Linked DNA regions of Homo sapiens: region 1 is linked to region 2. The links are contacts of gene promoters, found by promoter capture Hi-C in blood cells and fetal thymus (Javierre and others, 2016). All regions are on one chromosome and are shown on one strand. Each heading gives the region's core, a stretch centred on a gene start or on the middle of the fragment in contact. The rest is flanking DNA. Distances are from core to core; before and after follow the strand shown.

Region 1 (5,007 bases), core at 12-2,511, 110 kb before region 2:
TGAGGCTACGGCCGGGCCTAGGGAACTGGGAGCTTGGGTGGAAGCGACACCCGTGGAAGTGGGAGGAGGTGGCGCCGGGACTTTAACCCCTTGTGGGCTCTGCGGCAGGGGATTTAACCCTTTGTGGATCTGGCCCCTCGGAGGCAGCGTCATCGGTAGTTTTAACCCCTTCGGGGCTGGGTTTCACGCACTGGACTTACCCTCATCACCTTGCTCACCAACTCCTTTATTGGGGTGCTCCGCTTGGAGGTTTGAGGCCCACCTCCGCCCATTACGTACTGTTCCTGCCGCTGCACCCCCTTGGACCCGCTAGCTGGCCGCACTGTGGGCGCTTAACCCTTTACTGACTTGAGCTCCCCAGATTGCAGTTGGAGTTTGCTGATAGAAGGACTAGCTAAAGGCGTCACTGCAGGAATTACAAACTGAAGAGGACTCTGTTGGACTGTTTTTTTTTTCTTTTTCTTTTTTTTAAGAAAAACCCATTTTTTTCCTTAAGGACTTACTAGCCAAAATTTCTTAAACTTCGAGGACTCTACTAGCCATGGCCGAGCCATTCTTGTCAGAATATCAACACCAGCCTCAAACTAGCAACTGTACAGGTGCTGCTGCTGTCCAGGAAGAGCTGAACCCTGAGCGCCCCCCAGGCGCGGAGGAGCGGGTGCCCGAGGAGGACAGTAGGTGGCAATCGAGAGCGTTCCCCCAGTTGGGTGGCCGTCCGGGGCCGGAGGGGGAAGGGAGCCTGGAATCCCAACCACCTCCCTTGCAGACCCAGGCCTGTCCAGAATCTAGCTGCCTGAGAGAGGGCGAGAAGGGCCAGAATGGGGACGACTCGTCCGCTGGCGGCGACTTCCCGCCGCCGGCAGAAGTGGAACCGACGCCCGAGGCCGAGCTGCTCGCCCAGCCTTGTCATGACTCCGAGGCCAGTAAGTTGGGGGCTCCTGCCGCAGGGGGCGAAGAGGAGTGGGGACAGCAGCAGAGACAGCTGGGGAAGAAAAAACATAGGAGACGCCCGTCCAAGAAGAAGCGGCATTGGAAACCGTACTACAAGCTGACCTGGGAAGAGAAGAAAAAGTTCGACGAGAAACAGAGCCTTCGAGCTTCAAGGATCCGAGCCGAGATGTTCGCCAAGGGCCAGCCGGTCGCGCCCTATAACACCACGCAGTTCCTCATGGATGATCACGACCAGGAGGAGCCGGATCTCAAAACCGGCCTGTACTCCAAGCGGGCCGCCGCCAAATCCGACGACACCAGCGATGACGACTTCATGGAAGAAGGGGGTGAGGAGGATGGGGGCAGCGATGGGATGGGAGGGGACGGCAGCGAGTTTCTGCAGCGGGACTTCTCGGAGACGTACGAGCGGTACCACACGGAGAGCCTGCAGAACATGAGCAAGCAGGAGCTCATCAAGGAGTACCTGGAACTGGAGAAGTGCCTCTCGCGCATGGAGGACGAGAACAACCGGCTGCGGCTGGAGAGCAAGCGGCTGGGTGGCGACGACGCGCGTGTGCGGGAGCTGGAGCTGGAGCTGGACCGGCTGCGCGCCGAGAACCTCCAGCTGCTGACCGAGAACGAACTGCACCGGCAGCAGGAGCGAGCGCCGCTTTCCAAGTTTGGAGACTAGACTGAAACTTTTTTGGGGGAGGGGGCAAAGGGGACTTTTTACAGTGATGGAATGTAACATTATATACATGTGTATATAAGACAGTGGACCTTTTTATGACACATAATCAGAAGAGAAATCCCCCTGGCTTTGGTTTCGTAAATTTAGCTATATGTAGCTTGCGTGCTTTCTCCTGTTCTTTTAATTATGTGAAACTGAAGAGTTGCTTTTCTTGTTTTCCTTTTTAGAAGTTTTTTTCCTTAATGTGAAAGTAATTTGACCAAGTTATAATGCATTTTTGTTTTTAACAAATCCCCTCCTTAAACGGAGCTATAAGGTGGCCAAATCTGAGAACAATTAAATTCATTTTAGTTATAATAAATTTAATATTTGTAAATGTAACATAGTTTCAGTGTGATTTCTAGAGCTAATTCAAAATAGTATTGATATATTTTATGTGACTGCATTTTTGGGGAGGGGTACCGAAATCGTTAAATTTGTCAGTTTGCAAAAATATCAATCTTTAATGGGAGAATTTTCAATTTGCCAATTTTTTCCTTGAATGGGTTTAAGTATGCTACAATATACAGTTCAGGCAAAATTTAAGATGTAATTATCTTCAATACTTAAGTGTGCTTGCTTTCTAGTGCCTTGGTTTTCTTTCTTGATGCTGGAAAAATAAACAAACCGGTATTGAGTGTTTAGGCGAGTGGAAAGTGGCTACAATCCAAAATTTTAAATTTAACTCTGCCTCGGCCATTCAAAAGTCTAATAACAAAAAATGTAAACCTAATTTGGCAGTTTGTTAGGTTAGACAACTGACAGCCTCATTTCATTCCTACAAGTTGGTTTTCAGTAATCTCTTCCTTCCCCCCAGTAAGGCTGGAAGAGGCTCTTGGCAAACTTCTTAGTGCAAGCAATGGTTAGATTAATTTGTGAGGCAGCTCTTTAAGACGTTCAGAGGTAAGAAATACTGGATTTATAAAGCAAATGGCTGTTTGGGGGATTCCAAGGATTTACCTAATTGTCCAATTCTACGTGCTCTCTATACCAAAACAAAAAAAAAAAGCTATCCACCTTTCCATGTGGGTCAAACTAAAATTAGAAATGTCCCCTCACTGCAGATCAAATGTAAAGCTTCCAGTTAAGGAGCTAAATGAGGTCCTCAGCTGAATGAGGAACCCTGTACATCCCCTTGCACAGCCCTATTCTAAATCGCTTAAACTATGCTGATAGCTGCTTAGGTTCTTGAGTAGTTCTGCTCTTAAACGTAGGGAGGCCCTGAGAACTAAATTTTGCCCCAAAATAAAAACAGAAATTATGAGATTGCCTCCTGTCATTTTGGTTAACCCAGTCCTTCACCTGCCCTGTGTCAGTGTCTTCTGAGGGCAATTGCGTTGCTCAAATCACTAGCACAGAGGTTCCTTAATTTGGGGCCTTAGAAACCATTGTGGGCCTTGGGGTCCATGAACCCCATGAAATTATTTGTAGACTTGTATGTACATTTTTCTGGGGAGAAGGTTCAAGAGATTCATAAGATTGTCAAACTCCTTGAAGGTTCAGAACCTCTGCAGGGAAGGGGGAAGAAAACCCTCCCATTAGGAAGCATGCTTTTGCAGTTAAATGGCGATGGTGGAGGTGATAGGGACTTCAAGAGTAAAATGCACCTTGTATTGCATAAGAAGCATACACAAATCAATAAATCAAGGGAGATTATACCAGTAGGACTGAATCAGGGCCTTCAAAGCTGGACTGAGTTGGTCCTGTTCTGGCACATATGGTCCACTGGAGACAATGTATGATTGAGTTTTTCTTTGGTCTAAAAATTATATTAAACATTTATTTTGAAATAGTTTTCTTCGTGTTTTTTTCTTCTGCTATGACGTCATGCAGCAGCCCCAGAAAAACAGCTGCTTGGAAAGGCAGCAACAGTGCCCTCTGGCTTTACAGTGCAGAGCTGAAGCCTCATTTTGACTGAACTGTAAGATGCAGCAGTGATTATCTCTGATATTAGACCCTTTTTCTTTATTTTTTTTTTTTTTTGAGACGGAGTTTCGCTCTTGTTGCCCAGGCTGGAGTGCAATGGTGCAATCTTGGCTCACCGCAACCTCTGCCTCCCAGGTTCAAGCGATTCTCCTGCCTCAGCCTCCCTAGTAGCTGGGATTACAGGCATGTGCCACCACCCCCAGCTAATTTTGTATTTTTAGTAGAGACGTAGTTTCTCCATGTTGGTCAGGGTGCTCTCGAACTCACGACCTCAGGTGATCCGCCCGCCTCGGCCTCCCAAAGTGCTGGGATTACAGGCATGAGCCACTGCGCCCAGCCCAGACCCTCTTCTTAAAGAGGGATTCAGCTATGAAAATCTTATTTCCCCTAGTATTAGAAAAATGATATTTAGAAAATGAATCTTGGAAAGACTATAAATGCATTTATCATCAGAAAAAGTATGTTTTAGAAGACAAATTCAGCCCAGTCTTCAAATATACAGATATCTAGGCTGGGCACAGTGGCTCATGCCTGTAATCCCAGCACTTTGGGAGGCTGAGGTGGGCAGATCACCTGAGGTCAGGAGTTAAGAGACCAGCCTGACCAACATACAGAAGCCCCGTCTCTACTAAAAATACAAAAATTAGCCGGGTGTGGTGGCACATGCCTGTAATCCCAGCTACTCGGGAGGCTGAGGCAGCAGAATCGTTTGAACCCGGGAGGTGGAGGTTGCAGTGAGAGGAGATCGCGCCATTGCACTCCAGCCTAGGCAAGAAGAGCGAAACTGTCTCAAAAATATATATATACACAAATATCTAATTACAAATAACTCTCATACATCAATTTACCTTAAGCTATGCAAGTATGTCTGAATTTTGCTTTCAAAGGCACTAGCATTTTACCTTTTTTTTTGCATTTATATTCTCACAATGATGAGGTTTATTCAAAATTTCAGTTTTAACACTTTCTATACTTTTTTTTTTTTTTTGAGACGGAGTCTCACTCTGTCGCCAGGCTGGAGTGCAGTAGCGTGATTTCGGCTCACTGCAACCTCAGCCTCCTGGGTTCAACCGATTCTCCTGCCTCAGCCTCCCGAGTAGCTGGGATTACAGGTGCACGCCACTGCAACTGGCTAATTTTTCTATTTTTAGTAGAGACGGGGTCTCGCCATGGTTGCCAGGCTGGTCTCGAACTCCTGACTTCAAGTGATCCGCCCGTCTCAGCCTCCCAAAGTGTTGGCAATATAGGCATAAGCCACCGCGCCTGGCTTTTTTTTTTTTTTTTTTTTGAGATGGGTCTTGCTCTGTTGCCTAGGCTGGAGTGCAGTGTCGCGATCTGGACTTACGGCAACCTCCACTTCCCAGGCTAAAGCGATCCTCCCACTGCAGCCTCCTGAGTAGCTGGTACTTGCCACCACGCCT
Region 2 (5,417 bases), core at 342-2,841:
CCCTTTGGCACTTGGTGCTGAGTGCTTTGCACATTCAGTCTTCATACCTACCCTATGCCCAGTTGGCCACGGCTCTCCTCTCACAGATGAGGAAACGTGTATGAGGTCATGCAGCTATTAAGAGCAGCACACGACCCAAAGGCAGGTCTGGCTGGCTCCAAACTCTGGGATGCTACTCACTGCACTGTCTTAAATCTCTTTAGTCTTCCAGTGGGACCACTGCAACTATGTCCCCCTCCAACCTGGATTTTCAATGACCTCAGAGTGAGCCTGCTACATCTCACTTGTCTCCGGTTACCCCCAGACTCCATGTGGCCTCTTGGTCTGATCTCTACCTTCATTTTTCATCTCTTGGCATCCAGCTTCCTGTCCCTCACCCTAAGCCGAAGCTACCCCCAGAGTACCGCAGGCCTTTCTGCACCCAGTGCCTTTGCAAATGCTATTTCTTATACCTGGAAAGCCTTCTTCTGGCAAAGTCCTACTCATGCCTGAAAGCCCAATTCAAATAATCAGTGTAATCCTCTCCATGACAGACCTGGCTGTCTAATCTACGTTTTACCTTACAGGCGTGAGCCACTGCACCCGACCTCTGGTTTTTTTTTTTTTTTTTTTGACAGGGTCTTGCTCTGTGGCCCAGGCTGGAGTGGCAGCATCATAGCTCACTGCAACTCCTGGGCTCCAGTGAGCCTCCCAGCTCAGCCTCCCAAGTAGCTGGGACTACAGGCTCATGCCGCCACACCTGTCTAATTTTAAACATTTCCTGTAGAGGACAAAGTCTCGCTATGTTGCCTAGGCTGATCTTGAACTCCTGGCCTCATGTGATCCTCCCACCTCTGCCTCCCGAAGTGTTGGGATTGCAGGCGTTGAGCCATCATGCCCACCTAATTTTTGACCGTTTTTAATGCTGGCCCATGCCCTTCTGGGAGAGAGGATCCCCAAAAGAAAGCCACCATTTCAGTGGGGGATCTGACGCCCCTATGGGAAGGGGAGACACAGGGCACTGGGGGCAAACATCTTTGCTCATTGGTTCAGAGAAGAGTACAAGGCATCAACGAAGCGCTCCGTAAAAATGTGCTGAAGACTGCCGCTCCTCCCTGCAAAGCCTCAAGCATCAAGGAGGGACAACTGGATGTGATTTTTTGGATCTGCAGTTCAGGATAATTCATGAGTCGTTTCCTGTGCACAAGGCCATTGCTCCTTCTGTGGTCTCAGAACCCCTTCAAGAACCACTGACTCTGCAGTCCCTACTCCAAGGCGCGCATGCGTGTCCGTGAGAGCACATGGGTGTGCACCGCGCAGGGGCTGAGGCTGGGAGCCGTAGTCAGGGGCACCGGGTGGGCTTTGGCGGCGGGTCGACCTGCCTTTCAGGTGCCGGGGGTTTGGGAGCAGGGGAACGGGCCCTGGGCGGATTCCTGACCGCCCCCTTCGCGCCCCTCCCCCTCTCACTTTCGCTTTCCCCGCCTGCCCCAACCCTCGCCCCCGGGCGCTCGGCCGCTCCCACCTGTCACCCCCATGCAGACCGAGGCTCTGTCCTGGAGGCGGGGAGCGGGCTGGTGGATGCTGCCTCTCCGCCTCCAGTGTGCTCTTTGGCTGAGGGACTGGTGGGCGCTGGAAATATTAGAGGCGCCGGTGCCTGTGATGTCGCCGCCTCTGTGACGTCCCCGCCGCGACCCCACAGGCAGGGAGCCGCATTTAGGTTTCGGGCGGGCGGACGGGGGACGGCCCGAGTGAGGCGTCCTCCGAAGGCTGCGGGCCCGAAGCCAGAACTCCTTCCTCTCCGAAGACCTCGGGGGTGGGGCTCGCGCTTCCGCAGCGGGCCTAGAGCGAGAGGCAGGCGGCAGGTAAGCCTGGCTGTGCTGGACAGGACTTGCACCCGCTCTGCACGCCAGCGGCTCAGGGCTGCCGCCCTTTTCGTGGTCCCAGGGCCCTTCCAAGAACCGGCTAAACCAACCCAAGCCGCGCGCACACACACTTGTGCACACAGGGAGTGTGGAGCCAGATTCGATAAGGCACCCCGTGTGCCCCAGCTCCATGACCAAGGAACTCAGCACCCCGTGTGCCCCAGCTCCATGACCAAGGAACTCAGCACCCCGTGTGCCCCAGCTCCATGACCAAGGAACTCAGCCCACAAAGGCATCCCTGGCCCCATGCAGGGCTCAGGAGGCAGCGGAAAGGGTTAAGAGTCCAGGCCTCAAGGACAGGAGGGGAGGGTGGAGGGCCTGTGGTGTGCATCCGGCATCCCTGGATGGTCAGGGCCCAGAACCCATCCCTATTTCCCTTCTGGTGGTAGGGGGCTGCCTAACTTGGGCAGTGGCACAAAGCATGCAGGCTTTGTTGTCCTCCTCCTCCACCCCTCAGCCTGGCATATTTTGGCGAGGGACTTCCCTGATGCCACCGGGCAAGGTATCTTGCCTAACTGGTCTGAATGACTAGCCCAGCGTTGGGACTAGAAGCAGCCACTGGGAGGAGTGGTGGGAAAGCAGCCCCACTCAAGGGCTGAAACAGTCCTTGTCCAAAACAAGGGGGACTTGAAAAGATCTCAGCAAGAAGGCAAAGAGAGGCAGCTGTTAGGGTCGTGAGGTTCAGCAGGCCGGCAGGCAAGAGAGAGGACACCGATGGCCTGGAAACATTTGTCATCACCCCAAACTTTATTGCTTACAAAGAGTTCTCTACAACCCAGACTCTGCAGTACCAAGGCTGCAGTTCTTTATGTGCTGGGGGCCGGGGCTCTCTCCCCGGGAGCAGTCTGACTCAATGTGGACAGCTGGACAAAGGCTGTCTTGGCAAGATGTGGGAATGAGCTTCTCCCACGGAGTCTCGGCGTCCCCTGCCCCAGGAGGTTGAGGCTAGCAGACACCCCCTGACGATTCACAGCTGATTTAATGCTACGTGAGTCCTGAGTAGCTCCCCTGGGAGAAGAGGCTAAGCTGGGGCAATGGGGAAGGGGGTGCTATTCTTAGAGAAATCTGGAAGAGGTTTGAGGAGTCACATGCATGTGGACAGCTCAAGACTGTGTCCCTTCACCCCATCTCCTGGCTTGCTATGCTCCTACAGTGTCACTGCCCTGCCCTGCCCTGCCAGAGGGCAGCCATGAAAGTGCTTTGAGGTCATCAGAGTGCAAAGTGCCGTCGGCAGTACCCTCTGGCCAGGGGCAGGGCAGGGTGAGTGTCAGTGTGATGCTGAGCTGTGCTCTGGGGAACCAGCACGCTGGACACTGATAGTGGGGCTGGGGCGCCGGAGCGTCTCTCTCTGCTGCTTTCCTTAGCACTGATCATGTCCATCCACAGACTGTTCCTGTCAGGCATATCCTGCATCACCCTTCACCTTTACAGATGAGGGAACTGAGTGCCAGCGAGTCTGGGGCAGTGCTGGGCCTGAAGGGGCTCGGGGCCTGCTGCTCTGGGGAAGAGTGGTAGCCAGCAGCAAAGGGGCACATGTCTGGGGACTGAGAACCACTTCACTTACACACCTTCTTTGGTCCTTGGCTGAACCAGAGGTCAACTCAGGACCTGTGTTGCAACAACCTGAAAAGTGTGGTGTATTCTACCAGGGAGCCTTCCCAGGGTCAGGCATTCTTTTCCCCTACACCCAAAAGGGGTGAGCTGGCCAGGTGAGGCCAGGCAAGGGGTTTAGAGGGCCCCCTTAACCTACGGGCGGGCATACCTGCTGACCTGGTTCTGCACTGAACCTGAGTTTGGGCCCTTACACACTTGACACTCTCACAGCAGCCTGGAGGGTGAGGGGCCGAGGGGCTCGCCCACCCCTTCTGACCCAGGCTGGAAGCTGCTCTCCCCTGTCTGCCAGCAAATGGTCACTGATCCAAGCGGGTCAGGCCAACTCGACTGGAGCAGGGCAGAGAAGATCCTGTTTGTTTCCCGAGGTAACTCCTGCCATCCTCCTCTGTCTCTTCACGTGGCGGAGTGTTTTCTCAGCAGGGTGGGGCAGGGCTCAGGTGTGAAATCCTGGGAGGCATTCTGCTTGCCCCCACCTTGCTGCTGCGAGGCCCTGGTCCCACTGCTGAGCCGGGGGCTGGCAGATCCCTGGGAACGGCTGAGCCTGTGTTTCAGGGCAGCATCGTGCACCGAGCAGGAAGGCTGCTTCCGGCAGTGTGGAGCCGGCGGTGGAGGGCAGGGTTAGGGCCTGTTCTCCAGCTGGCCATGCTTGACCCTCCAGCTCCAGGCGAAGCTGCCATCAGGGGCCAGTGTGCACTGCAGGTCGATGCCCGAGTCTGGCACCTCCATGTCGTAGCGAACAGGCTGCCCGTCTTTGGTGACCAAGCTGAAGGCTGCAGCTGGGATCTAAGGGTGGAGCAAACCAGTGGGCTGAGATCATGGCATAGGGCTCAAGCCATGTAGAAAGGTAAAGACATCTCCTTCCAGCCAGACCGGCAGCCCTAAGGGCACTGCCTGTCTGTCATTCCACGGGACTCAGAGAATCCCACCCGGCTCAAGTGTAGGTCTGGAGGACCTCTTTGTCACCACTGCCAGCCTTGCTTTGAGGCCCTGGGAAATGCTTTGAGGTCCTGGGGGACGTTGAAGGCCAATTCCAAGTATTCCCTAGAGTGCCATTCTACTTCTTTGAAAGCTTTCCTCCTGGAGGGTGGGGCCAGCTGCATTGGCTTCTGGGACTCTGCCCGTCAGAGTGTACCTGCCCCCCTTACCTGGCTGCTGATGCCAGTGGCGATGTCTCCCACTTTGACCCGGTGGAACTCCCGGATGTGCAGGTGTTCACCATTAAGAGACTGTATTTGGACTTTCACACCTAGAAGGCGGACAAGGTGATAGTCAGGAGAGCGGCTGCTGGCTCCCCAAGGACCAGGGTCCTGGCAGGGGCTGGGGGAACGTTTTTGTTAAAAGTCACTCTGCCCTATGTAGGGGGAGCAGGTCTGGCTGTGATGGAGCAGCAGAGATAAAATTTAGGCTGGTCTAAGCACAGCTGCATTTTTTTGTTTTTGAGACAGAGTCTCACTGTGTCGCCCTGGCTGGAGTGCAGTGGCGTGATCTCAGTTCACTGCAACCTTTACCTCCCGGGTTCAAGTGATTCTCCTGCCTCAGCCTCTCAAGTAGCTGGGATTACAGGCATGCGCCACTATACCCAGCTAATTTTTGTATTTTTAGTAGAGACGGGGTTTCACCATGTTGGCCAGGCTGGTCTCGAACCCCTGACCTCATGTAATCCACCTGCCTTGGCCTCCCAAAGTGCTGGGATTACAGGTGTGGGCCACCACACCTGGTCACAAAGCTGCATTTTTATAAGAAAAAAAAAATTCAGGCTGGAACAGCCCTCATATTATATACACCTGCTAGTTCTTCCTGGCCGTCAGCACCTGGGATTTGGCCTGTGCATTGCTAAGAGCTGGGGCTGGCTCCTATGGGGAAGTAGTATTTCAACTTGGATGCAAAGCAGAAAGGAACTGA

Evidence for each region. The method cuts DNA at HindIII sites, captures the fragments that hold promoters and counts their contacts. A CHiCAGO score of 5 or more calls a contact.
Region 1: a contact is called between a fragment that was not itself captured here and the fragment with the promoter of SPATA32 in region 2, in 7 of 17 cell types (neutrophils, M1 macrophages, M0 macrophages and 4 more). The highest score is 7.3, in neutrophils.

Annotation. Positions count from the first base shown.
Region 1 is chr17:45,148,650-45,153,656 of GRCh38, forward strand. HEXIM1 (HEXIM P-TEFb complex subunit 1) reads left to right here. Exons shown (of 1, transcript NM_006460.3): 1 at 1-3,450. The coding sequence starts at 542. The coding sequence ends at 1,621. HEXIM2-AS1 (HEXIM2 antisense RNA 1) reads right to left here. Exons shown (of 3, transcript NR_186789.1): 3 at 1,013-2,270. Among named protein-coding and RNA genes, the nearest start is that of HEXIM1, 2.7 kb to the left of the region's middle. RefSeq lists enhancers at 215-264, 315-364, 415-524, 929-1,484, 1,155-1,214. The HindIII fragment of the contact is 2,947 bases long and covers 1-2,735 here.
Region 2 is chr17:45,260,503-45,265,919 of GRCh38, forward strand. It overlaps SPATA32 (spermatogenesis associated 32), which reads right to left and starts at 1,592. Exons shown (of 5, transcript NM_152343.3): 1 at 1,502-1,592. The coding sequence starts at 1,514. It overlaps MAP3K14 (mitogen-activated protein kinase kinase kinase 14), which reads right to left. Exons shown (of 16, transcript NM_003954.5): 15 at 4,661-4,761; 16 at 2,617-4,298. The coding sequence ends at 4,134. The region is part of intron 2 of MAP3K14-AS1 (MAP3K14 antisense RNA 1); the gene reads left to right. RefSeq lists silencers at 1,236-1,355, 1,426-1,475 and enhancers at 1,424-2,029, 1,506-1,595, 2,030-2,633. The HindIII fragment of the contact is 9,151 bases long and covers 1-4,582 here.